Regions from separate parts of the Homo sapiens genome. Here all the other regions are linked to region 5. Evidence: promoter capture Hi-C in 16 types of primary human blood cells and fetal thymus (Javierre and others, 2016). All regions are on one chromosome and are shown on one strand. The core of a region is centred on a gene start or on the middle of the fragment in contact, and the rest is flanking DNA. Distances in the headings are between cores, read along the strand shown.

Evidence for each region. The method cuts DNA at HindIII sites, captures the fragments that hold promoters and counts their contacts. A CHiCAGO score of 5 or more calls a contact.
Region 1: a contact is called between a fragment that was not itself captured here and the fragment with the promoter of PLGRKT in region 5, in 5 of 17 cell types (megakaryocytes, erythroblasts, neutrophils and 2 more). The highest score is 10.6, in megakaryocytes.
Region 2: a fragment that was not itself captured here is called in contact with the fragment with the promoter of PLGRKT in region 5 in 1 of 17 cell types (megakaryocytes); the score reaches 6.7 in megakaryocytes.
Region 3: a contact is called between a fragment that was not itself captured here and the fragment with the promoter of PLGRKT in region 5, in 1 of 17 cell types (megakaryocytes). The highest score is 5.9, in megakaryocytes.
Region 4: a fragment that was not itself captured here is called in contact with the fragment with the promoter of PLGRKT in region 5 in 1 of 17 cell types (megakaryocytes); the score reaches 7.8 in megakaryocytes.
Region 6: a contact is called between a fragment that was not itself captured here and the fragment with the promoter of PLGRKT in region 5, in 1 of 17 cell types (megakaryocytes). The highest score is 6.8, in megakaryocytes.
Region 7: a contact is called between a fragment that was not itself captured here and the fragment with the promoter of PLGRKT in region 5, in 1 of 17 cell types (neutrophils). The highest score is 6.8, in neutrophils.

Annotation. Positions count from the first base shown.
Region 1 is chr9:4,993,155-4,997,302 of GRCh38, forward strand. The region is part of intron 2 of JAK2 (Janus kinase 2); the gene reads left to right. It also overlaps a transcript of INSL6 not described here. Among named protein-coding and RNA genes, the nearest start is that of JAK2, 10 kb to the left of the region's middle. The HindIII fragment of the contact is 1,326 bases long and covers 1,527-2,852 here.
Region 2 is chr9:5,066,732-5,070,508 of GRCh38, forward strand. It overlaps JAK2 (Janus kinase 2), which reads left to right. Exons shown (of 25, transcript NM_004972.4): 10 at 1-58; 11 at 2,291-2,477; 12 at 3,194-3,321. It also overlaps a transcript of INSL6 not described here. Among named protein-coding and RNA genes, the nearest start is that of JAK2, 83 kb to the left of the region's middle. The HindIII fragment of the contact is 3,673 bases long and covers 685-3,777 here.
Region 3 is chr9:5,122,607-5,126,270 of GRCh38, forward strand. It overlaps JAK2 (Janus kinase 2), which reads left to right. Exons shown (of 25, transcript NM_004972.4): 23 at 398-515. It also overlaps a transcript of INSL6 not described here. Among named protein-coding and RNA genes, the nearest start is that of INSL6, 61 kb to the right of the region's middle. The HindIII fragment of the contact is 5,045 bases long and covers 1-3,664 here.
Region 4 is chr9:5,084,115-5,087,691 of GRCh38, forward strand. The region is part of intron 19 of JAK2 (Janus kinase 2); the gene reads left to right. It also overlaps a transcript of INSL6 not described here and the pseudogene PDSS1P1. Among named protein-coding and RNA genes, the nearest start is that of INSL6, 100 kb to the right of the region's middle. The HindIII fragment of the contact is 5,863 bases long and covers 1-3,577 here.
Region 5 is chr9:5,435,771-5,439,725 of GRCh38, forward strand. It overlaps PLGRKT (plasminogen receptor with a C-terminal lysine), which reads right to left and starts at 2,155. Exons shown (of 6, transcript NM_018465.4): 1 at 2,019-2,155; 2 at 799-924. RefSeq lists enhancers at 1,457-2,656, 1,712-1,801, 3,362-3,521. The HindIII fragment of the contact is 16,310 bases long and covers 1-3,955 here.
Region 6 is chr9:5,048,524-5,052,241 of GRCh38, forward strand. It overlaps JAK2 (Janus kinase 2), which reads left to right. Exons shown (of 25, transcript NM_004972.4): 6 at 2,163-2,308. It also overlaps a transcript of INSL6 not described here. Among named protein-coding and RNA genes, the nearest start is that of JAK2, 65 kb to the left of the region's middle. The HindIII fragment of the contact is 2,956 bases long and covers 257-3,212 here.
Region 7 is chr9:4,975,258-4,979,334 of GRCh38, forward strand. No RefSeq gene overlaps it. Among named protein-coding and RNA genes, the nearest start is that of JAK2, 8.0 kb to the right of the region's middle. The HindIII fragment of the contact is 1,237 bases long and covers 1,130-2,366 here.

The sequences.
Region 1 (4,148 bases), core at 940-3,439, 440 kb before region 5:
TACCCACAAATCTCTTTTGAGAGGAACTCTTTCCTCCCCTAAGCTCTGTGTGAGTCTGCTGTGGGACAACACCCTTAAGATCCTTAGATAATATTTCGTCTGAAAGGATCTATGAGGTACTGATTTAGATCTTAAGAAAGGATCTTATAATCACACTCTAGATTGGATCTTTGCTCTGAGGCCCTTTTTATTTGACACTTTGCTGGCTGAAAAGATTGTTCTGAGTCCATTACATCTCCTTGAAATTCTACTCAAAAAATGAATAGCTTATTCTTTAGTTCATCTCTCTGTTCTCTCAATTATAAGGGCAGCTAGAAGAAGCCAAATTGCTTTAACTTCCTGCTGAGAATCTCCTTAATTCATTAGGTCAGGTATGTATTTTATTTTCCATGTTAATGTAGGTGACAGTTTTGCTAAACTTTGCCCTAGTATGTAACAAGGGTGTCCTCTTATTCAGCTTTCACTATCATTTCTCTCACTTTGCTTGAAGTCCTCACTGACAGTCTCCTTGAGGGCTCTTAGGCTCCCATGAAGTTTCCTCAAGACCCTTTACATGTGTGAACACAAAGGGTCCTTATCTGTTCCTGGCTATATAGCAGGTCCTTGAATAACTGTCATTTCTTCATAACGTTGATAAGAAAAAAATGGATTCCTGGCTGGGGCCACTGTTTGTGTGGAGTTTGGACATTCTCCCCACGTCTGTGTGGGTTTTTCCGGGTGCTCCAATTTCCTCCCACATTCCAAAGATGCATATGTTAGTGGATCGGTGTGTCTAAATGGTCTCAGACTGAGTGATCATGTATGGATGAGTGTGCCTTGCAGTGGGTGATGTCCTGTCTAGGGTTGGTTCCCACCTTGTGCCTTGAGTTGCTAGGATAGGCTCTAGCCACTCGTGACTGAACTGAATTGGGTTAATAATTATCCTACTTGTTTTTATTAGTCTTTCTTAAATGTGTGTATAGCTCACATTTATTTCAGTGTTTAATAATCAGAGTGTTTGGAATCTTTACTTAGAAGTTTGATGATGTTTTTGTGGCCATAAATATGCCATAGGAACTTCCTTATCTCAATTAGCCTATGGAAAAATGGATTTTGTTACACATTGTTTCACTTAAAGTCACAGTTTCCAAGAACCTATTGAAGACAGTGAGGATTAACTGTACTAGAACTGTTTCCTAACCCACTGGTTCTTATCAGAATTACCTAAAGGACTTATTGAAACACAAATTGCCGCTGGGCCCCACCCCCAGAGTTTGTTTCATTAGCTCTGGAGTGGGACTTGAGGATTTGCATCTGTGAGTTCCCAGGTGATCTGATAATGTTGATCTGGGGCCTAGATTGTGAGAATTACTGATTTAAACCAGGGATTGGCAAGATTTTTCTATTAAGGATCATAAATAAAATATTTTAGACTTTGTGGGCAAGATTGTTTCTCTTGCACCTACTCAATTCCGCCTTTGTGGTGCAAAAGCAGTTATAGACAATACGTAAATGAACAGACGTGGCTCATGGCTGTGTTCTCATAAAGCTTTATTTACATAACAGGCAGCTGGCTAAATTTGGTATGTGTGAACTGTGCTCTGCCAATTCCCAATTTAAATCATTACTTGACTCCACATCTCTTCAAGCTATGGCCCCATTTTTCACTCCCCTTTGGAACAAAACTCTCTGAGAGTTGTCTGTATTTGTCTCTTTTTATTCTTTCATAAAAAAATTATCTATTTTTTGAACACATTTAAATGTCTTAGAATTCAAAAAGTAGTAAATATCTTTGTACATTTGTCAGGGCGTGTGTGTGTGTGTGACTATAACTAAAGATTAAGTAGAAGAGGAGTTGCTGATTCAAAAGTGGTATATGTTACTAAGTTCAACAAATATTGCCAAATTGACATAGAAATACCAAGTTATGCTTTTCTACACCTTTACTAACATTGTGTTTTCAGATGACTTGATTGTTGCCAACTTGAGACGTGAAAAATAGAATCTCATTATAATTTTAATTTGCTTTTTATTCTCCTTTTTTAGGGAACTCTTCACTCATATCTTGGCCCACTTTCTATTGGATTTGTGGTCCTTTTACTTTGCTTTGTGGGAGCTCTTATACTAAGGAAGATAGCTTTGAGTTTGCGAAATGAGTTGTTTTCCCTAGGTTGTCTCTTTATCTTTTTGATTCTGTAGATAGTGTGATTTTGTTGTTGTGCATCTAGGTAGGTTCCTTCTAACCCTGAAATTATATTTTGAGATTCTCCCTTGTTTTCTTGTTCCATCTGGAATTTATACTGATGCAAGATATAAGATGGGACGCAACTTTTTTCCCCTAGATGGTTGTCCAGTTTCAATACTATTTGTCAGATAATCCTTCTTTTCTCTGCTGCTGTGAAATGCTGGTGTTTTAAATTGTGTATGTAGTTGGATCTATTTCTGGACTTTGTTTCATTCTAAAAATGGCTCCTCTGAAACCATATTGTGAGTTCTTGGGTAGTGAACATTTCTATTTATTTGTTTCCAAGTCCTGTATAATATTTATTAGCATATGGGAGGCATTCAAGTACTTGAAAATAAAATGAATAAATCAAGCATTTAGGAATAGAAGCAGATCTTTTTGCCAATTATTCATTTTAGTTATTCTATTTAATTCTCTATTTCTGATTTTAAACTTGAATTTAACCTTGGTTTTCCATTTTAGTTTTACCTTTTTTTTAAACTTTATTGTGAAGTATTAAGTTATTTTTTGTACTTACTGAATGGGCATTTGCTAACTTATGTGTCTGCTCTTATTAGTCTATTTTTGGCCTCAAATTGTTAAAAATTCACAGTATAGTTTTATTTGTATCAAATTTGCTACTGAGGGAAGCTTGTCATTTCATAATGGCAATCCATAGGATAGGTCAAGTCATTTGAGATTGGAACCATTAAGGATAAGTTCATTTAACATTGAATTATTAGATCTGTGGTTAATTGGCCAGGTTAGAGAAGACAGAATTACAGGGAAGTCTGGATTTTACAACTTATTATTTTAGAGGGTCAAATTTAGAATAATATTTTTAAGCTTTTTAAGTAGAAGTATATGGATCACCTGAGGTCAGGAGTTCACCACCAGCCTGACTAACATGGTGAAACCCTGTCTCTACTAAATACAAAAAAATAGCCAGGTGTGGTGGTGCATGCCTGTAATCTGAGCTACTTGGGAGGCTGAGACAGGAGAATCGCTTGTACCTGGGAGGCAGAGGTTGCAGTGAGCTGAGATCGTGCCATTGCACTCTAGCCTGGGCAACAAGAGTGAAACTCTGTCTCAAAAAATAAATAAATAAATAAATAAAAATAAATACATAAATAGAAGTATACTATTCTGATTCTCTTATTTATATGTATAATTTATTTTTTTAAATACATGAGGTATTGTAGATTTTTTGGTTTTTTTGAGGAGGGGCGGGGGTGATGTGAAATATAGTTTTCATTGCATCAGATCTTCAGTTGTAATGATATTGCTGGAATCCACCATTTAGGACCCTGTCTTGTTAAAAAAAAATTATCCTTGCCTTCACCCCTACCCCTCCCTGCCACAGACTTTTAAAGGTAAGTATTCTGCGATAATTGGATTATATTTACTATTATGAAAATTTAAAATTATTAGAAGTAAAATGAAATATACCTCCATTGTAGTAAGTTTGATTCACAGTGCCTCTGGTTATGGTGGTCAGTAAAAGTAACACTGTATTAGGAACAGTCTTCATGGTGGGAGTTCTCTCCTTTTACTCTTCTGTTAGTTTGTTCTTTTTTTTTTTTTTTTTTTTTGAGATGGTTTCACTGTCACTCAGGCTGGAGGACAGTGGCTCGATCACGGCTCACTGCAGCCTTGCCTTCCCTGGGGTCCAGTGATCCTCCTACCTCAGCCTCCTGAGTAGCTGGCACTGCAGGCGAGTGCCACTAGGCCTGGCTAATTTTTATATTTTTTTTTGTAGAGATGGGGTTTCACCGTGTCACTCAGTCTGGTCTTGAACTCCTGGGCTCCAGCAATCTTTCTGCATCAGCCTCCCAAAGTGCTGGGATTATGGTTCTGGAGCCACCGCGCATGGCCTGTTAGTCTGTTCTTGCATTGCTATAAAGAAATACCTGAGGCTGAGTAATTTATAAAGAAAAGAGATTTA
Region 2 (3,777 bases), core at 1,271-3,770, 370 kb before region 5:
TGTACTTCGATGCAGTCCTAAGGACTTTAATAAATATTTTTTGACTTTTGCTGTCGAGGTTAGTATGTCACACTTATTAGTGGTAACACTTTATTTAGTTCATTTAATTTCCTCTCCATATTTATTTACCATATTTCCTTTTTAATACTGAGAATTATAGCTTTGGATATGATAACTAGTATAATGCTTAATTTCCTCAGAGATTCTGTACAAATAAACAAGTTATAATTCCCAGGGTTTATATAAAAATATAAAATAATTTATAATGTCTATCTTTTTATTTTGCATTTATTTTATTTTCTGATGTTTTGGTGTTACCAGTGTGTTAAAAGGTATTTCATCAAGTGTCTTGATGTTTCTTTGTTTGCAAAACTGGAAATCTTTGCCACATCATGTAGAACAAAATAAATCGGAAGCAAATTTTCTGTTTATTAACAGTGGTTGCAGAATTAGAGGAAACAGAATTAGAGAAAACTAGGTCAATAACAAACAAATAGAAACATTAAAGCACTTTTAACTGATGATTTTCTAATATTTTTAAGAATAGTGGTCTACAATGCATGTTTCAACGGTAAAACTGCAATGAAACCCCACTGTTAATACAGATCATTTTGGATCTCATCTATGATTATATACTATCACTTATGAGGCAATTTCATGGTATAAATCCTAAGAAACTATAGAAGCTTGCAAATTTATCTTGCTTTTTTAAAACAGAGAAAAATAAGAACTTTGTTATTCAATTATTTTAATTTTTATAAAATGCAACTTATATTTGGCATATGTAGAGGGTAGATTACTTACAGAAGGGAGGTTATGCCATCACTTTACCTTTGTGTAAAACTGGTAATCTATCCTAATTTCAAAGTATCCTGTTACTATAACAGATAATAGTACATTATATTCAAGTATGAATTCAAAAAAATATATATATATATTTTATGTTCACTGTATGTGCCAAGCCTAATATGAGAGCTATGTATTATAGAGTTTATGCTACAGCCCTACCTTCAGGAAACTTATCTACTGGACAAACAAAAATTTTCAAATATACAAAAAATTCTAAATCGAACATTGTAATTATCTAGCATAGGCAAATATAGACAGTAACAGACAGGTTTACAATTATTAAGAAAGGGCAGCCAGGTGTGGTGGCTCACACCTGTAATACCAGCACTTTAGGAGGCCAAGGCGGGTGGATCACGAGGTCAAGAGATTGAGACCATCCTGGCCAATGTGGTGAAATGGTGAAACCCTGTCTCTACCAAAATTACAAAAATTAGCTGGGCATGGTGGTGCGCACCTGTAGTCCCAGCTACTCGGGAGGCTGAGGTAGGAGAAGCGCTTGAACCCGGGAGGTGGAGGTTGCAGTGAGTCAAGATTGTGCCACTGCACTCCAGCCTGGCGACAGAGCGAGACACGGTCTCAAAAAAAAACAACAACAAAAAAAAAAAAAAACAAGAAAGGTTATTTGGCATAGGAAGAACCTGATTGACCTTGAGGTATTGGTAGATTTTATATAAATGTTTCTGAGTAGAATGAATATGTTTATAAAATGCACCTTAAAAATAGGTGAACAAGTTCATAATATAGTGCATAAGACAAATATTTAAAAACTGCAAAATATTAAAAATGTAATATTAAAGATAATTATACAAATACAATGGTGGTGCAGTGGAATGGCTGTATGTTCACCTTTGCTTGTGCAAAGAGGTGAGCATTAGAGAGGACCTCTTAGAAACAGTGGTACTTGAACTGAGTTTTGATGAATGAATAAAGGTTCATTGCTCAGAAGAAGTGGGTATACATTCTTAGGTAGAAAGATAGCATGAAGAATTATCAAGGCATGAAGCAGCATGGCATTTGCTTGAAATGATTTAAGTCATTTAATATGGCTGGAACGTAGGTTGTATGTTGGCAGTGGCAGGAGCTGAGATTGGAGATGGAGGCAGAAACCAGCTCATGGAAGGCTCTATATGCTACATTTGTTTTAGGCTTTATCTTATAAATGATGGAAAACTATTAAGGATGGTATTGTTGCTATTAATTATCATTGCCTTCTTACATGCTTTTTCATAAAATCAACTTTTAAACCACTTTTGTAGGCTGAGAAATTGTAAATTGCCCTTTTGAGGAACTAAGTACTTCTATCACTATACTGGCACTACATCGGATTCATGGTTCAAATGTTTATTCTGTTGCTTGTTCTTGTGATATCATTTTGTCAGAATAATCACTGTGATGTCCATTGTGACTATCCCTCCCTTTCTTTATAATTAAACTTATACAGCGAGAAAATGTCATTGAATATAAACACTGTTTGATTACAAAAAATGAGAATGAAGAGTACAACCTCAGTGGGACAAAGAAGAACTTCAGCAGTCTTAAAGATCTTTTGAATTGTTACCAGATGGAAACTGTTCGCTCAGACAATATAATTTTCCAGTTTACTAAATGCTGTCCCCCAAAGCCAAAAGGTAAGATAATTTTCTAGTTATTTTTAAATTACTGGTCATGGATTGTTTATGTGGCGTGAAGTATCTTCAGTACATTGATTTCAAAGGATATATGAAAGAAGCAGCTCTAAAAGTTAATTTTATCTTATTCTATTGTACAAGCATCATCAAATAAGATTGTTTACTTTGGTTTTGGTGGTCTAGAAGTGACTTGAAGTTCAATTATTCTAAAATGAGATTTTAAACATAATGTGTGGTATGATGTCATTTATTGAACTGGAAGATCTCACTACTAAATTCTTATGTTGTTTTAAGTAAAAATTTTCATATACTTCGAGGATTTTAATTTCTGTATTTTAAAAATAAAGACAGTAAAGTTGGAAATTCCTTGAAATAATGAGCCTTACTATTAAAAATTATTAAAATTCCTGAAAAATTGTATGAGTTAAGGAAGTTACTATAATTTTGAATTAATGAAATAACTGGCAGGAATACATCAAAATCCAAATTACATTAGTTAAGGAAGTGATTATAATTTTGAATGTATGAAGTAACTAAGAAGAAATATCAAAGTTCAATGAGTTGACCCCTAAAATAATTTTCTATTATAAAAAAAGAACAATTAGGAGTTATTAAGCATTTCTTATACGTAGAACACATTTCATTTTACTCCTCTTTGGAGCAATTCATACTTTCAGTGTATTTTGAAGTGATATATATGTATTTTATTTTTTCAGATAAATCAAACCTTCTAGTCTTCAGAACGAATGGTGTTTCTGATGTACCAACCTCACCAACATTACAGAGGCCTACTCATATGAACCAAATGGTGTTTCACAAAATCAGAAATGAAGATTTGATATTTGTAAGTCATTAGATACTCATTACTGTCTTTTTTGTCCTTTTAAAACAACATCTGTTTTCTTGATTTACATTCATGTGACATTGGAATTATTTTGTTATATACAAATTTAGTTGTGATTTAAATATTTTTCTTATGAAAAATATGCCAACCTTGTGTTAGATGTTAGCAAAATTAATTATCTTAATTATCCTAAGAATGGAATCTTAATTTTCTTTTTGGAAATTTAAAAATGATTCTTCACAAATCTCAAATTAAAAATTAAAAATCTACAAAGACCTATATCGCAACTCCCAAGTTCTCAAGAAAGTAAGGGAAATTCAAGGGGTTAAAAATAAAGAAGAAACTGAGAAAAAAATCCAGCCATCTCTCAGTGTCCATGAGGGATTGGTTCCAGGACTACCCATGGATACCAAAATCTGAGGATACTTAAGTGGAACCTGTGGATATGAAAAGTTG
Region 3 (3,664 bases), core at 1,118-3,617, 310 kb before region 5:
CTAGGAAGACTCACAGGACTCAGCATATATCCATATTCATGGTTATGATTCATTATAGGGAAATAACATAAAGCAAAATTAGGCACTCTCCGCCTGGCACATACTAAAGTTACATACTCCCAGAAGAAAAGTAGATGTCAGCATAAACCGTATTGTTTGTACAAACAATCTAGGCATAGTGAGTCACTCTTATTTAGGGAATTGTGGAATCCCTCCTGAAATCTAAGTTCACAGGTGCCAGGCAAAAAGGCCCTTTTAATCATAGAAGCCTCAGGCCTGCTGTGATAACTCTTTTCTCTACATGTTTTTTTTTTTAATTTATACAATGATTTGCAGGTAAAATCAAGAGTCCACATATCAAGTAACTGTCTTTTAAATGTTATTCATATATTTACAGGTATGCTCCAGAATCACTGACAGAGAGCAAGTTTTCTGTGGCCTCAGATGTTTGGAGCTTTGGAGTGGTTCTGTATGAACTTTTCACATACATTGAGAAGAGTAAAAGTCCACCAGCGGTCAGTGTGCTTTTTATTTACTTTCAGTTTTTTGTTTGTTCGTTTGATTTTTATAAATTTATGGGGTACAAGTACAATTTTGCTACATGCATACATTGCATAGTGGTGAAGTCAGAGCTTTTAGGGTATCCACCACCTTAATAACATACATTGTATCCCTTAAATAATTTCTCAGCATCTACTCCACCAATGGCTCACCCTTCCAAGTCTCTATTGTCTATCATTCCACATTCTACGTTCATGTGTATACATTATATAGCTCCCGCTTATAAGTGAAAACGTGGTATTTGTCTTTCTATGGCTGATTTGTTTCACTTAAGATAATTACCTCCATCCATGTTGCTACAAAAGACATAATTTCATTCGTTGTTATGGCTGAATAGTATTCCATTTTGTATGTATACCACATTTTCTTTATCCAGTCATCCACTGATGGACACTTAGGTTGATTCCATGTCTTTGCTTTTGTGAAGAATGCTGCAATAAACATACAGGTGGAGGTATCTTTTTGATACAGTGATTTCTTGTCCTTTAGGTAGATACCCCATAGTGGGAATGCTGGATCGAATGGTAGTTCTATATTTAGGTCTCTGAGAAATCTTTATAATGTTTTCCATAGAGGTTGTACAAATGCACATTCTCACCAACAGTGTATAAGAGTTCCCTTTTCTCCACACCCTTGCCAACATCTGTTATTTTTTCTCTCTCTCATTTTTTTTTCCATTCTGACTGGAGTCAGACATATCTCACTGGGGTAATTTTTTCTCTTTTTTTTTTTTGTCATTCTGACTGGAATAAGGCATATCTCATTGTGATTTTAATTTGCATTTCTCTGGTGATTAGTGATTAGCATTTTTTCATATGCCTCTTGTCAGTTTGGGTGTCTTCTTTTGAAAATGTCTATTGATCTCCTTTGTCCACTTTTTAACACGATTATTAGGGGGTTTTGGTTGAATTGCTTGAGTTCCTTATAAATTCTGGATGGTAGTTCCTTGTCAGATACAAAGTTTGCAAATATTTTCTCCGATTATGCAGGTTTTCTGTTCATTCTGTTGATTATTGATTTTGCTATGCTGAAATTTTTTAGCTTAATAAAGTCTCATTTGTCTATTTTTGGTTTTGTTGCCTATGCTTTTGAGGTCTTTGCCATGAATTCTTTGTTTACACTCATTTCCATTAAAGTTTTCTCTAGGTTTTTTTTCTAGTATTTTTCTAGTTTCAGATCTTACATTTAAGTCTGTAATCGATCGAGTTAATTTTTCTATATGGTGATAAATATGGGTCCAGTTTCATTCTTCTGCATATGGCAATCCAATTTACCAGCACCATTTATTGAAAAGGGTGTCCTTTCCCATACTGCGCAAAGCAATCTGCAGATTCAATGCAGTTCCTATCAAAATACCAATGTCATTTGTTCACAGAATTAGAAAAAACAATCCTAAAATTCATAGGGAACCAAAAAGAGCCCTAATAGCAAAAGCGATTCTAAGCAAAAAGAACAAAGCTGGAAGCATCACATTACTTGACCTCAAATTATATTATAAGGCTACAGTAACCAAAGCAGCATGGTACTCATATAAAAAACAAACACATAGATCAATGGAACAGAATAGAAAACCCAGAAATAAAGCCACAAATTTATAGCCAACTGATCTTTGACAAAATCAACAAGAACATACATTCAAGTTTTTTTTTAACATGAGAAAGGATTTATCCAAAGAATAGTAAGCCTAGGACTCACTTTAGAGCTTTTATTGCTTATTTTTAAGGCAATATCAAACAAAATAATCCCAAACCTATTCCTAAACTAGCTTGAATTTTTAAAAAGGGGATATTGGGAAGCTAGTTAGTACAGTCTCTTAATATTACTTTTATTAAATCCAGTAAGCTAATTCATTCTAGGAATTATTGCATAAGTTAAAATAAACCTTCCAAAGTAATTTTTCTCTTGGTCATCATAGAATTTTTTTTAATATGGAAAAGTATGAAAAAATAAAAATCATCTCTAATGCAATTACTCAGAGAAGACCACCTCAATATTGTGGTATGTTACCTTTCAGGCTTCATTTTGTGTATAAAAGTATATACAAAGAAGTATATAAAACTTTTATAACTTTTATAAAAGTTCACTTATATAAATATATATTATTTTATAAAATTAAGGTCATACTGTGCAGTTTGCTCTCCTTCTGTTTCATGAAGTATTACAGCATGGGTAATTTACTGTATTAGAAAAATGTACTGCAAATATGTTTTCTAATTGCTGAGTAGCATTCCATCATAAGGCTATATATGTCTGAACAATCATTTTCCATTCTTCAGTCTTTTAAGTAACACTTCAGTGAACATAGTGAACATCCTCATGCATAAATATTTATATTTATCTCTGATAATTATCTTAGAATAAAAGTATAAGTAAAAGTTATGAACTATTTTAAAATTTTTTTAATTTCAAAATGCTTTCTAGAAAAGCTGTGCCAAATTATATCTCAACAGCAATGCATAGGGATGTACATTTCATCATTTGCCACTATTGGTTATTATATTTTTATGTACTTTTGCCAAGTTGATAGGGGAGAAGTTATATATATTTTAATTTCCATTTCTTTTCTTAATGTGGTTGACTATATATTTGTTGGGTGTTTAGGGTGGGTATGTATATATGTGAATTATCTCTTCTGTGCTTTGCCTATCTTTATATTTGTAATTTTTTTTCCCAATTTATAAGAGCTGTCTATATTGAAAATAAGTAAATGATGTTTAAGTATTTTCCTAGCTTATAATTCAGATTTTAATTTTATAAACTTTGACATATGAAAGTTTTCTTTGTTGTATTTATGCTTATTCATTCATTTTTTCTTATATTCTCTTTTATATTCAACTTTTTATTTCAATTGAAATGTAATATGATAAAAATATGAGTTTTTTAACAACAAAAAACTCAAAGGAAATATGTTTTTAGTTCATGTGTTTTGAGCCCTCCTCAGGGGATTTGTGTTGAGTTTATTACAGCTATGGAAATGGAAATTATAGAAGTTCCATATTTAACAGCCTTATGTTTTTGATCCTAAAAGTAGTTTGTTTTGAAAAGGTTTGAAAACATACAAAAGCACACATATACTAAATTTTTTCCCATTGACTGGAGGAAA
Region 4 (3,577 bases), core at 943-3,442, 350 kb before region 5:
TAAGTAAATTGAAGAGACTCTAAGGAAGGCGTTTTCAAAATACATGTACAATGAAATATATTTCTTAGTAATTTAGTTTGTAGGAAATGAAAGGTAAATGGTGTAATCATTAGTCAGTCATAGATATTTTAATGTGGATATTTCCTATCTGTATTTAACACCATAATTTTACTTTCATCTTTGTTTGTTTGAAGTAATTGATGTGTTCAGTGGTTTGTCTAGATATTTGTACTGCCTTACTGAAACAATCAAAATGCCATTCCTACAAAAATGATTGCATGTCACCTTTCCATTTTATAAAAATTAGCTACTGTATCCCTTTGTTATCCTTTTCAATTAGTGGTATGGTGAAAATATTCCAAAGAGGGATATATATTTAAAATTATTTTCATATGTTTTAAGCCAAGAGAAATAATGGTATATTTTTTTATTTTTTAAAAAATATTTTCATACTGTTGTAAAAGGAGCCAAGAAACTATTGTGAAATCTTTTCTTTTGCTATTTGAAATCTAGAGTGTTTTTTGCTTTCTTCCTTTATCCTCATGCCCACATATACTTATATTCTTTTTTAAATTAATTTTAACATGGATTATTTGTGTAATAGCCTTACATGTGGATATTAACAGTGTAAACAGTACCACATATAACCATCAAGACACCTCAATTAGAATTTATAGGACTAGAATGACAGATTCAGATGGTTTAATTACATTTAAAAAGTTTTCTGAAAAAACTTTTGCAATAAAACAAATTGCCCATCAATAAGTTTGATATCTTTTAAAATGATTTTTGGTTATCTGCACATGAAGCAAACAAAGTGTATTCCACAAAATTCTTAGGCACAGTCTGAGATAGCTGCCAGAAAGAACAGAAAGAGTTGTCATTTATGTCTTGTGAGTACAATTTCTGAAAGTTGAATGAGGGCGTCTCTTTCTGGGGATGAGAAGTTTACTGCTCTCTCTTATTGCTTCATGGCAGTACTGCTGGGCAAGGTAGGTTGTTTGTTTTACACCATCACTCTGTAATACATACTGTGGAGCTCTGTCTACATCTCCCGGCAAACTGAACCATCTCATGATCATAGCATTCATTTCTGGGAACTGCTGACAGGCAAATAGGACAGGACCAGTGGCTAACCTGAGATTCACATCAGCTGATGTTGGTTTGCCTATGTTAGAACATGAGGTGAAGTCGAATACATCATCTATTAGCTGAAAAGCTATTCCTACATTTTTTCCGTACTGATAGGTGATCTCATGCACCACTGGGTCGGGGCATCCTAGAACAGAGACTGCTTTACAACTGTTGGCTATCAGGCTCGCAGTATTCTTGAAGGTCTTTTCAAGGTATTGTGCAAATCTCTCATGCTCATTTTCTTTTGACCCGAGCTGAAGAAATTCACCACACACCAAATCTTCAATAACTCGGGTTAAAATAGATATAACAGCTGTATTTCCAGTTTGTGCCCCACCTATAGATACTACAGAAAGAATTAAATCTCCAGCAAGGACAGCCTTCTTTTCACCCCAGATCTTGTGTGTTTTCCTTTTCGAGAACGTGCATTATCAATAACGTCATCGTGAACAAGACTAGCAGTGTGGATCATTTCTGCAATTAAGGCTGTGGCGCGCTGGCTAGCTTGCACATGTCGGGAGTTATTATGATGAATATTACATGCTCGGGCCATTAGTACCACAATAATTGATCGAAAGGCTTTTCCTTTTACATCAAAGTAGTACTCAGAGATTTCCTTAAGTTCTGTTGTTGATATGAGCGGTTCCTTTCTAATACCCTCATACAGACCTTTCAAGTCTCTCCAACCGAGTTTGAAAGGATCGGTGTATTTCTCACCACTGTGTGTTTTGCTGTACGGGGTTGTGTGATGAAACTGTGATATACTATATACATTTGGACAGGCAGGTGTTAAATGCTTCACAAGATTAAAATAGGGTATCTGAGACAAGTCAAGTCCCTTCTGCCTATGAGCCTGCGCGGGCATCGGCAGCGGCGCGCGGCCCCGGCGGCCCCGCAAGGCTCGGGGAGCGGTCTCCACGCCGCCGGTCTCCAGCAACAGCCGCGCCGCCCCCGCCACCAGCGCGAGGCCACGGTCGGAGTCTGAAAGTCGCGGTAGGATGGTGGCTCCGCCTCTGGCCCGCGATCCTCCTGCCAGGACCTGGAGCCTGAAACCTCTTATATTCTTTATATCCTTTACCTTCTCGCTTCACTCCTAGCGGTTTTGAAATCCTCTTTATTCCTTTTTCCTCCATGGTGCAGATATGGGATTCAGAGATCAGGATCTTAGTGCGACTACTTTGAAATTATCAGCATCATTCTCAATCTTCTCTGAATATGATTCTTATTTTCCTCTCTTCCCATCATTAGCTAACATCTTGGTCCACATTCCTTGAATACTTTTAGTACTCATTGTTTTCTCATCACCTTACCTCCTGCCATTATTTTGGATGCCCTTCCAATACTTAAAAAAAAAATTCCTTGGCTTCTCTACCCCAAAGTTATGATTATGTTAAATGAGTTCCTTTGAACTCTATAATCCCATGTAATAACCTTACTTAGAAAATTTCCTACCCTGAAATCTCCCTGTCTGACTATAACTTTATAGCCTTTGGCTTTTTTCAACATAAATGCCTTCTTTTTGATATCTTTGGTATTGCTAGTGTCTTTCACACTTTCTTCTTATTGGAACGTAAATTGGTGACCCTTTCTAGAGAGCTTCTCATAGAGCAGTTTGTATCAAGCGCGTTTAAATGTTCATATCTTTTAAACTACTTTCGCTGGTATCCACAATTATATCACCCCCCCTTCCCTTGATTATCTGCTTCACTTTCCCTATTATTTCCTAGTACGGGAACAATACAACTTAGCATTTTTAAATTGTGCTTCCATCCCTCAAACACTAAAAGAAAAAAATCAGATATAAATCTTTATTGTTTTCATTGAAAATTGGTTTCCAACATTGGTTAGGCACTTATGACTCTTACTGGTTGTATTAGTCTGTTCTCACGCTGCAAATAAAGACATACCCGAGACTGGGTAATTTATAAAGGAAAGAGGTTTAATTGACTGACAGTTACCCATGGCTGGGGAGGCCTCAGGAAACTTACAGTCATGGCAGAAGGCACCTCTTCACAGGGCAGCAGGAGAGAGAATGAGTGCCAGCAGGAGAAATGCCAGATGCTTACAAAACCATCAGATCTCATGAGAACTATCACGAGAACAGCATGGAGGAAACCACCCGCATGATTCAGTTGCCTCCCACCAGGTCCTTCCAATGACATGTGGGGATTATGGGGTTTACAATTCAAGATGAGATTTGGGTGAGGACAATGCCAAACCATATCACTCCCTTACTTGATTTCTTTCCTGGTCCTATCTCAAACCCTTCTGGTTTTCTATCTTAAATCTTTCTTTTCGCTGTATTTTTCTTCATCTCCTTCTTCCATAAGAAAAATAGAGGCATTCCGAATTAAAAGTGAGACTGATTTTTGCCTATCAAAGTGACAAGGATTTAGAAAAAGTATAATGATCATTGTTGGCAGGGATGTGATAAAATATACAT
Region 5 (3,955 bases), core at 905-3,404:
TTCTCTTTAATAGGCTGTTGAGTAGGGTTGTGAACCTCAGGTAAGAATGGCCAGTCTTAATTCATTACAGCCAGGATTCCCAAGTATTCTGTGGGAAGCCCAGCTAATGGGGTTCCAGGTGAGTGGGAGCTGCAAGCAAGACTTCAGTGACTTCCTTGTATTCTGATCAAGGATACACCTGGAGTTTCAGGGCTCTGTGCCAGAGTCAGCTTCAAAGCTGAGCACAGGATACCAAACCACTTACCAGGATGAAGAGGCACAATGCTGAAAAGGCCTGAGGTGGTGAGATTTCCCTCCCCTTCTGCCACTGTGCCACTCGAGCACCCTGTGACCAGAGTTAGAGGCCACTCACTGACAGCAGGGTGATTTGGCAGTTCTTTCCTTTCTCCAAACCCTAACAGTCCCATGCGACTCATCTCTAACAGCAGACCAGAACCTGCCTGAGGTTAGGAGCGAGATATTATCCATCTTGATAGTCTCCATGGTGTCTACTTCCCCTAAATATTTGCACAAAGCATGAGAGATACAAGAAAAACTGTGGCTCAGGCCACTTGCCATTACTTATTTTTCTTCTGAACATAGGAGTGGATGACTAAATTTTTACACCTGCTGCAAACATTTATAAAGAAAACAACTGTACTCTAGTACTATTCCTCCACATACCCTGTATATCACAGAGCTGTGTGCTTTCAAGTGCTCCTGTTTGTAAGGGGTTAGGATCTCCCCTGAAAAGAGAGAGTCCTCATGTCAATCATCTGGGAAAGAAACACTGTCTGGGAAGTTAGTATTTAGATTTACCTCTTTCTGGGCCTTGCTCTCCTGGGTCTGGACTTGTAGTCTGAATGTGTTAGAGGACGCTCCCAGGTGGAAGGGTTAAAGGTGGAAGCCAAGCAGGAAGAAGAGCTTCCTTATGGGAAACCACACCTGAGAATAAATAAATGCATCACACCTTGTAAATTTCACCCTGGAGTTCAGTATTTTCAACATTCTTTCCTTTCCCAACTTCCCCATTCCTGGCAAAGTCATTTCCCAAAGTCTGGGAATATTCCGTAGGGTGTCCAGAACACTTTCAGCTATCTCCTCTTGCTCACAAAATATGTATCAGAAAATAAGCAAAATTGACCTTGCAATAGGGATAACTTTGATTTCACTCACTTGTATAAGTTAAGTCTTTTAAAAATTCTAACACTTTTCACCAGGGGTAAAAAAAAATGTCTTGCTACTTATACAATTTTAAACATCACTGTGTCTCAGAGTGATGTTTTGCAGAGAATGCTGATTTCAATCCCTCTGTCTTCATTTTCCCTTTGATTCCTTCTGAGATCTTGGAAGGGGTCTTTAATGCTTCAGCCCTGCCTCAGGTGAGCTATAGATTACTATGGGAAGGTGTATTTCTGGGGAGGAGAAGTGGTGCCTGCAAGTTCCAGACAACCTTTCTTCCGGTCACCCGTGAGTACCTAGATTTGATTTTACTTGGGGGGACATAAAAAATTAATTGCATGAATTCTGTCATCGGGATTACCACGCTGACTTATTTCCCGATCAGATGACACATTGCCTGAATGTATGACTGATCGTCTCACCACAGTCATTTTCAATATTTGCATCCCATTGAAATTAAGCCACATCCCCTTGCAAATTCCAGCCCAGAGCCCACAGCTTCCGGAGGTTTTCTGTAATTAACACCGCCCTTGCTCCCTGAGGCCAGTTACTGTAATTTAGGTATTCCCCGCAATAGTGTGCTGATTTCTGTTGAGAGCACTGTGCCTGTTTTTCTCAACTCTATTTTAAAGCTACGGAGAGATCCGGAGTCCACGCCAGGCGACAAGAACGCGCTCTAATGGAACGAAGTTGGCAATACCTATCAGCACCAGGGGCAGTGCGAGAGCCAAGAGCCGGCGCTCACGAGGAGCGGGCGCCCAGCGCTGCCTGGCAAGCCCGGAGCCCAGGAGATCGCGCTGACTGACATGGCCGGGCTGACCCTTCTCCCCACCCGCCTGCGGCCGGTGTTCACTCACTGGGCGGCGCTGGTGCCGGGACCAGGCGACCGGTACGCAAACCTCCAGGCCCGGGCTCCTTTCGCCCGCTGCAGGGACCGGGCCTCGCTCCGCCCAGCGTCGGGATTGGCGCCCAGACACAGTAGATGACGCACCTCAGCCAATTCGCGCAGCCCTCAGCTTCTTTAAAGAGCCGGCACTTCCGCCAGAAGCCGGGTGTGTCCTTCCGGGCCAGGCTCAGTGTTACCAGAGGTGGGAGGGGAAGGTCAAAAGAGGCAAATTCAAAGCCGCGGCGACTCAGCTGCCAGATTTTTGAGATGAGGCAGAGGAAGCGGAGTGGAATTCTCAATTAAAGGCCTCTGTCCCCTCATCTGTTAAATTGGCACTATTAAAAAGTCATAAAGATAAGACAGAAACGAGAAAGAAGAGAATTGACTGAAATTACCCATTCTTTTTTGAACAGAGCCGTCTTTCTCCCCTGCTGCTCAGAGAGATGTCGGTCTCGCCTCAACCTCACCAGCAATTTCTATCTTGAATAAGCCACGTCTCTCTCCCAGCCTGAGAGAATGCTTGAATTGTTGGCACTCTGTTCTTTGCTACCAAATGGCTTGGAAAAATAGCATGAACGTCACCAGTCTCTGGCCTTCAGGAAAGTCCCTGCTAACCACCACAGCGGTGGAGAAGGCGTCTAACTTTCTCCAGGCTCAGCGTGTGAGTGCACACCGCCCTGACCTCCTGGGCGCGTCTTGATGCTCTCAACAGCAGCCCTCAGGATTCTGGACTGTGGGTCCCACATTCCAGATACCATTTGTGGAATGGCTGGATGAGAAAATTGCAACAGCACCCTCATTTCCAGTTAAGGGAATGGGCGGGTTACCAGGAGGTTTGACACTCTTGAAGGGAGGTTAACAACTGATGCAAGAAGTAAGGAATCGTGTTTGAGTGCACAGACTCTAGCATAAACACACCTACCTTCAATTTCTAGCTCTGTCACTGTCACTCTGAATTTATCACCTCTGCAACAGGACTAAAGCCATCTAATTTATTGGATTGTGAGGACTAAAAGATAATATATGTGGGCATTTAGCACAGTGTCGGGCACATAGTTCGCCTTCCGTAACCAGTAGTAACCAGTAACAGCGGGGAGCTGTTAGTAACTATAGGGCTGAGGGGTGGGGGAAGGAAGCAGTTACTAAAACCAGGCGAGAGCGAGAGCGGTAGCTGTGGCTGTACGAGAGAGTAACCAACTGGAACCGTGTCGTTCAGTAGAGGAAAGCAAGCAATGCCAACTTTTCACCAAGTAAGGTGAGATTCTATAGTTGTAGCCAGTGCTGAGACGTCAGCCCAAAGCAGGGACAGAGTGGAGAAGACCCACCTCTCTGTTCTCCCAGCTCTGATATCCAGCTGGGGTCTTCCGCTGGCTGGATCCACCAGGAAGCCAGAAGACAGTGGAGCTAGGTCTGTGTAGTCTGTAGAGGTCAGCCTACTAGGCACAATGCCTGGAGGGAGAAATAGAAAATATCCAGCACACCATTTCTTTTTTTTGTTTGTTTTTACACTTTAAGCTCTAGGGTACATGTGCACAACGTGCAGGTTTGTTACCTATGTATACATGTGCCGTGTTGGTGTGTTGCACCCATTAAGTTGTCATTTACATTAGGTGTATCTCCTAATGCTATCCCTCCCCCCTCCCCCCACCCCACAACAGGCCCCGGTGTGTGATGTCCCCCTTCCTGTGTCCAAGTGTTCTCATTGTTCAATTCCCACCTATGAGTGAGAACATGCGGTGTTTGGTTTTTTGTCCTTGCGATAGTTTGCTGAGAATGATGGTTTCCAGCTTCATCCACGTCCCTACAAAGGACATGAACTCATCATTTTTTATGGCTGCATAGTATTCCAGCACACCATTTCTACAACCTTGGGTTTATTGTGTTTGGAAGCCTAGATCCAAAGGAAGG
Region 6 (3,718 bases), core at 485-2,984, 390 kb before region 5:
AACTTACTTGCCTGTTCTCAAAAGTGTGGTGAAATAAGTGTTTAAAATTGAGCAAAAATCTGTCTCCTACCCTGAATTAATTTTGTATTAGCAACGTTTAGGCCTTTGTTTTGGGTGATACTGATTATTTGATGGTGTGGTTCTTAATAGTTTATTTTCTTATATGAAAATATCTTCTATATTTTATTAATAGAAAAGCAAATATACTTTTAAATATGTTTCTTTTAATAAAATTAGTTTAAAAAGGTTCCAGTAAAGCTTTAATTTCATGAGACAAGTTATTACATCAAGAGAAGAGAAATACAGATGTAGAGTATAGAGGGCCCTTGTCCGGTTTAAAACCTTGATTCGCATTGTTATTTTAGGTAATATGGCTCTTACCTTTTTTTCTACAAAGAAAATTGGTATTATGTTTAGAATATTTGTACTTCTGCTTTCTTTTTCTTTCTCCCATTACATGTTCAGTCAGATTTATCTGTATTCCTAAATCCTCCAGGTCAAAATCGTAGAACCTCTGTGTTTCTCTCTTCTTCATTCTTTAGACAATATATAGTTAATAAAGTTATCAGCCTTTTTTCAGAATCTTTTAGTATCTTCTGTTTCCTGGATCAGATCCTTATTATTTCGTATCTGAGCCATACACCAGCCTCTTAAAGAGCCTCCGTAAATACACTTTATTTTCTTCAAGCACTTCTATCATTGCTACTACTCTGCCAATGGAAGAGACATGATGAAAACAGATCTCCATAGTTTCTAGGATCAGGTCATTCAAGGGTACCTGCAGTCGGACCCCAACTTACTTTTCTAAGTTTTAATCCACATTATTTCTTCACATAAACTTCAGGCCCTAATCAAATTAGTTTATGCATCTGAACATATCTGGTGCTTTTGTGTGTGTGTCATTCCTTCTATTTCTTTACCCTGTTTTGTGTCCATCATACATTTCTTTATTTTTAAACACACTGTGAAGTTTCAAATCTTCCATGAAACCCTCCTTGATTACTCCAGCTGAATATAATCTTAACTTTCTCCAAGTTCCTGAAGGAGCTTTTGTGTGGTGCTTCCTATATCATGTCTGGTGTTATAATTATTTGCTTCTGTTTCGCTTCTAAGCTAAATTTTGGTCCCCTTGATGACTGAGACCACATCTTATACAGTCATGTGTCACTTACTTATGGGGATATATTCTGAGAAATATGTCGTTAGGCAATTTTATTGTTCTGTGAATATCATGTATTGTACTTATACAAACCTATATGTTATAGCCTAGTATATGCCTAGTCTGTATGGTATAGCCTATTATTGCTCTAGGCTACAAACTTATATAGCATGTTGCTGTACTGAATATTGTAGGCACTTGTAACACAACGGTAAGTATTTGTGTAGTTAAACATATCTAAACATAAAAAAGATACAGTAAAAATGCAGTATTACAATCTTATGGAACCATCGTTATATATGTGGTCTGCCATTGACCAAAACATTGTTATGGGGCACATGGCTATTTCTTTGTATCCAACACCACTTGTAGTATGATACTTCCAACATAATTGGAGTTCAGTATATATTTAACTCAGTAATATCTACTTTAATTTAGGTAATTTTTATGTAGAAGATATAATTTGAAGATATATTTAATGAAATAGGTTGATGTTATATGTACTCTGTAATTGGGAACCCAGTGTAAATCAGTTTCCATTTGCAAATGAACTTTTATTAAAATTGTATCGCAAAATGAATGAAAATTAAAGGAGGAATTTATGCCATTTATTTATTTATTAATCATTTTAGAGACTGGGTCTTGGTCTGTTACCCAGACTAGGGTGCAGTGGTGTGATCATAGCTGAAGAGATCCTCCTACCTCAGCCCCCCAAGTAGCTGGGACTGCAGGTATGTGCCACCATGCCTGGATAATTTTTAAATTTTTTGTGGAGATGAGATCTTGCCATGTTGCCCAGGCTGGTCTCAAACTCCTGGGCTCAAGTGATCTTCATGCCTTGGCCTCCCAAAGTTCTGGGATTACAGGCATGAGCCACTGAGCCTGGCCAATTTGTATCTTGTAAATGCATATGTTCTGAAAATTATGATTAAAATATAATCATAGATTAAAACATGATAATGAAACTTACGATGAGATATTTCCTTCAAATTTTTGGTTTTAGTGGCGGCATGATTTTGTGCACGGATGGATAAAAGTACCTGTGACTCATGAAACACAGGAAGAATGTCTTGGGATGGCAGTGTTAGATATGATGAGAATAGCCAAAGAAAACGATCAAACCCCACTGGCCATCTATAACTCTATCAGGTAATTTTCTTTTGCAAATCCTTACACATAAGTGTGAGTAGAGATTTTATATAATTCGTATATATTTTCTGTGTTTACCCATGCCTTTTGATTTTGTAATACTAGTTAAGTACTCCTTATCTAAAATGCTTGGAATCAGAAATGCTTCAGATTTTGGATATTTCCAGATTTTGGAATATTGGCATTGAACTTACCAGTTGAGCACCCCTAATCCAAAATGCTCTAATGAGCATTTCCTTTGAACATCATGTTGACGTTCAAAAAGTTCTGGATTTTGGAACATTTCGTATTTCAGATATTTGCAAGAGGGATAGTCAACCTATAATAAAAAATCATATGGGTAAGTTTTATATCTTGGGAGTAAAACACACTTTGTAAGGTGAAATTATTTAAAGAGTTGTACTACAGGAAATATCATAGGTATTAAATATCTATTATTTGATTTCATTTATTCTGAGAAGGCTAGGGAAGTTCAGAGGAACAGAAGAAACACCTGGAGGCATACTTTTTGATAGAAGATCCTCCAGTTGGCTATATAAATGACCTGAATAAGTATTTCCCAAATGGTGGTGTATATTTTATTTGCATTAGACTCACGTGGGGGAGCCTGTTAAAATCAAAGATTTCTGGGTCCTAATCCAAGAGATTTGGATTCAGTAAATCTGAGTTGAAGCCCACAAATATGAATTTTTACAGATGCTCTAGGGTATTCTTATACAAATGGTCCAAACTCTGCATTCTTCAAATTATTCTTCTGCATATTGAACTTGACAATCATGGCTAATATAAAACTGCTTTTTAAAAAGGTATATATAAGAATGGTTTAAGTTTGAAGGCAAATATGTATTTTATATATTACATACTTCCCAGATTAAAAATTTGAGTACATCATGAGTGTGGTTAAAGCTTCCTTTTTTGAAATTGTTCTCCCAATAACTGGCTTCAGTCATTTCTTTGCCATGTCATCAAAACAGTTACATACCCAATTTGCAGAGTATCAATTTCTGTATTTCTCTCTTTGGTTTTAAATATTCTTGTTTTACTTTCAGATGTCTGTTAGGTCTTAACCTAAGGGTGTAGGCCATAGGGTATAATTTTAGGAACTCAGAAATCTAGAAGATTCCAAAGCCCAAAGGAAAAAAAAAACACATTCATTCATTCAACAGCTACTTATTGAATACTTGCTGTATGCCAGGCTATAGTAGAACATAGTTGGAGGAAGAGTATCTTAGATGTCGTTACATAGAAACTGAAGGAATTCAGGGGAACACAGTTGAAGAACAGAAGCTTTGACCCATTGAAGATGAATGTTATAAATATGAAGCCATCTCTAGACTTAAGCTATCGTGGAATATTTCTGCTTTGGAAACCATGCTGTCATCCAAAGTCTTGGCACAATCTTTCTATGTA
Region 7 (4,077 bases), core at 498-2,997, 460 kb before region 5:
ATTTTAGTAGAGACAGGGTTTCACCATGTTGGCCAGGCTGGTCTCTAACTCCTGGCCTCAAGTGATCCGCCCACCTTGGCCTCCCAAAGTGCTAGGATTACAGGTGTGAGCCACCATGCCTGGCACTATTCATTTTTCAAACTCAAATGACATCTACTTTAAGAGAACATACTTTGTGGGGAGACAGATCTAGATTCAAATAGCAACTTTAATACTAGAAGTTATGTCAGTTTGGGTTTGAAATGAAATTCAGGCAATTTCTGTACTTTATTTTCTGTAAAATAGAGATAATAATACTTACCTAATAGGGTATAAAACCAAATAATAAAAATTTCAGTCATTTCAATATTTATTGTACCAGGCACTGTCCTACGTATTAGGTATATATGGTAATGAATAAAATAGACCTGGAACTCACCTCTCCTTGAAAGAAACAGACAAATAAATAAATGAAATATATTGTATGTGAAGTGGTAATAAGTGCAATGGAAATAAACTAATTAAGTGTTTGGTGTAGGTTGAGGATGGAGAGGCATTGAAATTTCAATTGTAATTGCATCTCACCTAAGGAGGTGATGAAGTGAGCCACGGGGATGTGAGAACGTGGGAGAGGGGCCAGGGAGAGTCACTGTTCTGATTCCTGGCTGCAGCTGTGATTACTGCCATATCTCTTGTAATTATGCATGTCGGCTTCCCTGAAACACCAACTCTGGCCTTCTACAACTTCAGACCAAGGTCTCCCAGTCGAGTGCCTTCCTGTTTGCATTCTATAACTGAGCCACAAACAGCCCTGTCTTGAGCTCTTATTTTCTTATAAAGTTTCTGGATATATCTGTATTTTATTTGGTATGCTCTTAATTATAGCCCTCTCTCCCCATTCCTCTTCTCGCTGCTGGAAGGTGGTGGATGGCTAGGCTGGAAGGCTATCCTGAGCAATACCGTCTTATGTTGGTATTTATTATTTGGTTTTATACCCTATTAGGTAAGTATTATTATCTCTATTTTACAGAAAATAAAGTACAGAAATAGCCTGAATTTCATTTCAAACCCAAACTGACATAACCTCTGGTATTAAATACCAATTATCAGTCATCACACCTCCTAATACCCAGTCATTTTATCCAGGCTAAGCTTCTGCACCTCAAGTTCTTCCCTTAAGGTGAATTTTTTCTATAGCGAGACCTCTGCCCAGGGAGTTAAGTGCTAACCTGTTTCCTGATAGCTTAGGGGTATTATTAATACGGAGGATTTGGCCACTGATCCTCATTTTGTCCTGCTATTGTTCTTATTCATTAATTCATTTATACAATGGCACTTATTTAACATATACTATGTGTCAAACTTGCATTGATACTGGATATACAATAGGGAATAAAACAAATATAGTTCTGCCCTCATGGTCTACAAGGGTTTCTTTGGATTCTTATAGAATACACTCTTCCTCTGCCTACCCTACCAGGTAACAAATAGGTATATTTCTTGGGCTGCCTCATCTCTGCACACTCCATAACTTGTTGTACATGTATTTATATCTGATGATTGTATCTAATCAATTATCTCTATGATTTGTAAGGTCTTTCAGCAGCAACATTTGTGATTTTAGAATTTGATTGATTTGTAATAAGTGTACTCAGTGCTATTTGACTTAAATTTGTTGCACTGCAACTTAGTGTAGCCCTGATAAAACTGGGGCTCCCATGTGGTCTGGCATATACAGTAAATGCCTTAAAAACACAAGCGTTATAATCAAGAATACTTGAAGAAAAAATTTAAGGTTTTATATAAAGGGAATGAAAGTAGGTCCACTTTATAAGTTAAAGCAAAATGTTTTAAAATTCTCTATTGCCATCCACTTCTTATTCCCATCTACATACTGAAGCAACTTGAAAGAAAGATCTCTTCTTTTTGTTCATTCTTCAAGTCAAGGTACTGCATCTGTGCCTCACTTATATTTTATTCCCTAACCCCTCCCCACCATATCACCTGTTATGAAAGGCAACCTAAGTTCTTTGGCTTATTTATTTTCTTTTACTTTACCCATTACAAGGATTCTCTACAACAGTGGTTCTTGAACTTTAGTGTGCCTCAGAATTGTCTGGAAGGCCTGTTAAAACACAAATGGCTGGACCCTACTTCCAGAGTTTCTGATACAGAAAGTCTGGGTTGGGGCTCAAAAATGTACATTTCTAACGTGTTCCCAGGTAATGCTGATGCTGCCTGTCCATGGACCACATTTTGAGAGCCACTCCTCTACAGTATAGCATCTGGGAGCCATTCCAGCAAATAAGAAATCTATCCATGGATAGAAGCCTTTGCTATATATTATACATAAATATTGTTACCTGATTGCCTATATATTAATATGAAGCTTATGAATTTAATGAATCATCTTCCATCACCACGTTTAAAATTCTGTGGGTTGGGGTGTATACTTGGGATAGGCTCAGCTATAAGCAAGAAGAGTAAAGGAAATAATATTTATTACTTGCTTGTCTATTCAGGAGATAGTAGAGTGTGATTGTTAGAGGAGTTAGCTGTGCAGCCAGGCCCTTTGGGGTTCAGTCTTAGCCCAGCAGGATTTCTGAGAGACACTTGAAAGACATTTAACCTTTTGTTCCTCACTTTCTTTTGAGATGAGGATAATGCAAGTAACCACCTCATAGCCTTGTGGTGAGGCTCAAATGATTTGATACATATAAAACTCTTGAAGATGCCTGATATGTTGTATGAACTGTGATGTTACCTATTATTGTTATCAGGAATTTGTTGAGTGTTTTCTACATGTTATCTCATTATAACCTCAAATCAATCCTAAATGCAAGTGCCCCTATTATTCTCATTGTAGAGACTAGAAAACAGAAGTTTAGAAAAATTGAGTAACAGATTAAAATCTCCCAGCTAGTAACAATCTCTGGTCTTTGTATTTTTCCAGCATTTTCCCAAAGGAATCATTTCCTCCTGTAAGAAAAATGGTTCAGGAAATCTGTACGATTCAAAAGCATATTTGAAGATAATTGGATAATTACTTGATCAGTATGGTTGATGAATTTTATAGTCAATATTATTGTGTCTACTTTAAAATGTAATCAAGGCAAAAATGGAGGCAACGATGGGTAAAAGAGTGGTTGTGTAACACACTAGTGAGTTTCTAACATTTACAGAGTACCGTTACATAACAGGCGTTTAATAAATACTGGTCAAACGACTGGGATGAGTGTGTTTTGGAACTAAAATTACCTAAAATTAAAGATTCATAATATTGAGTTAGTGAGATTATAGAGAAATGAGCATTGATATACTACTGTGGAACTTCTGGAAGTTGATTTGACAGTAGTCAACAAATTTTAAATTTGTATTTCCTTTGGTACAGAGAGTCTAAGTGTCTATCCCAGGAAATACATTTTTGCCCATGAAATGCATGTTCAATGCCTTCAAATTTAACACTGTGTAACTGGAGAAATTAGAAACCTAAATGTTCATAAATAAATTATTTAATAAATTATTAGCACCTGTTTTACTGACACAGTATAAGAGTTAAAATGAATGAGAAAAGCAATACATATTGACATGAAGTATCTCCAAGGTATTCTAAGTGAAAAAAATGTTAACAGAAAAACATGTGTAGAATAACCCATTTTATTTATTTACCAAGCTCAAAACTATATCTATAGGAGATATGTAAGAAAATGCATTGGAAAAAGTTTGAAAGAGTAAATCTCAGATAGTTATTAATGGTGGCCTCTGGAAATTGAAGAGGGCTGGGAGAAGAGGGTCAAGAGAAATTTCCACTTTGTACATTTTTTCTTCTATGTTGTTTGGATTTTCCACAATTGCTATGTATTTATGTTTACTTGTGAAATTAAAAATGAAAAAAAGTAGTTTGCTCAACAAATATACTTAAAAGCCCTTTAATAAATATAATAGACATTAATATGTACAACAGTAAGTTTTCATGAGCCTTAAAACATATCTATTCTGGTAATACGCATTTGTTTTCAAAAACCTCCAAAGTCATCACTGTTACTAAAATTTTATTACTTGTAATGCTATTGAGTCCCAGAATATTTCCTGTGAGTA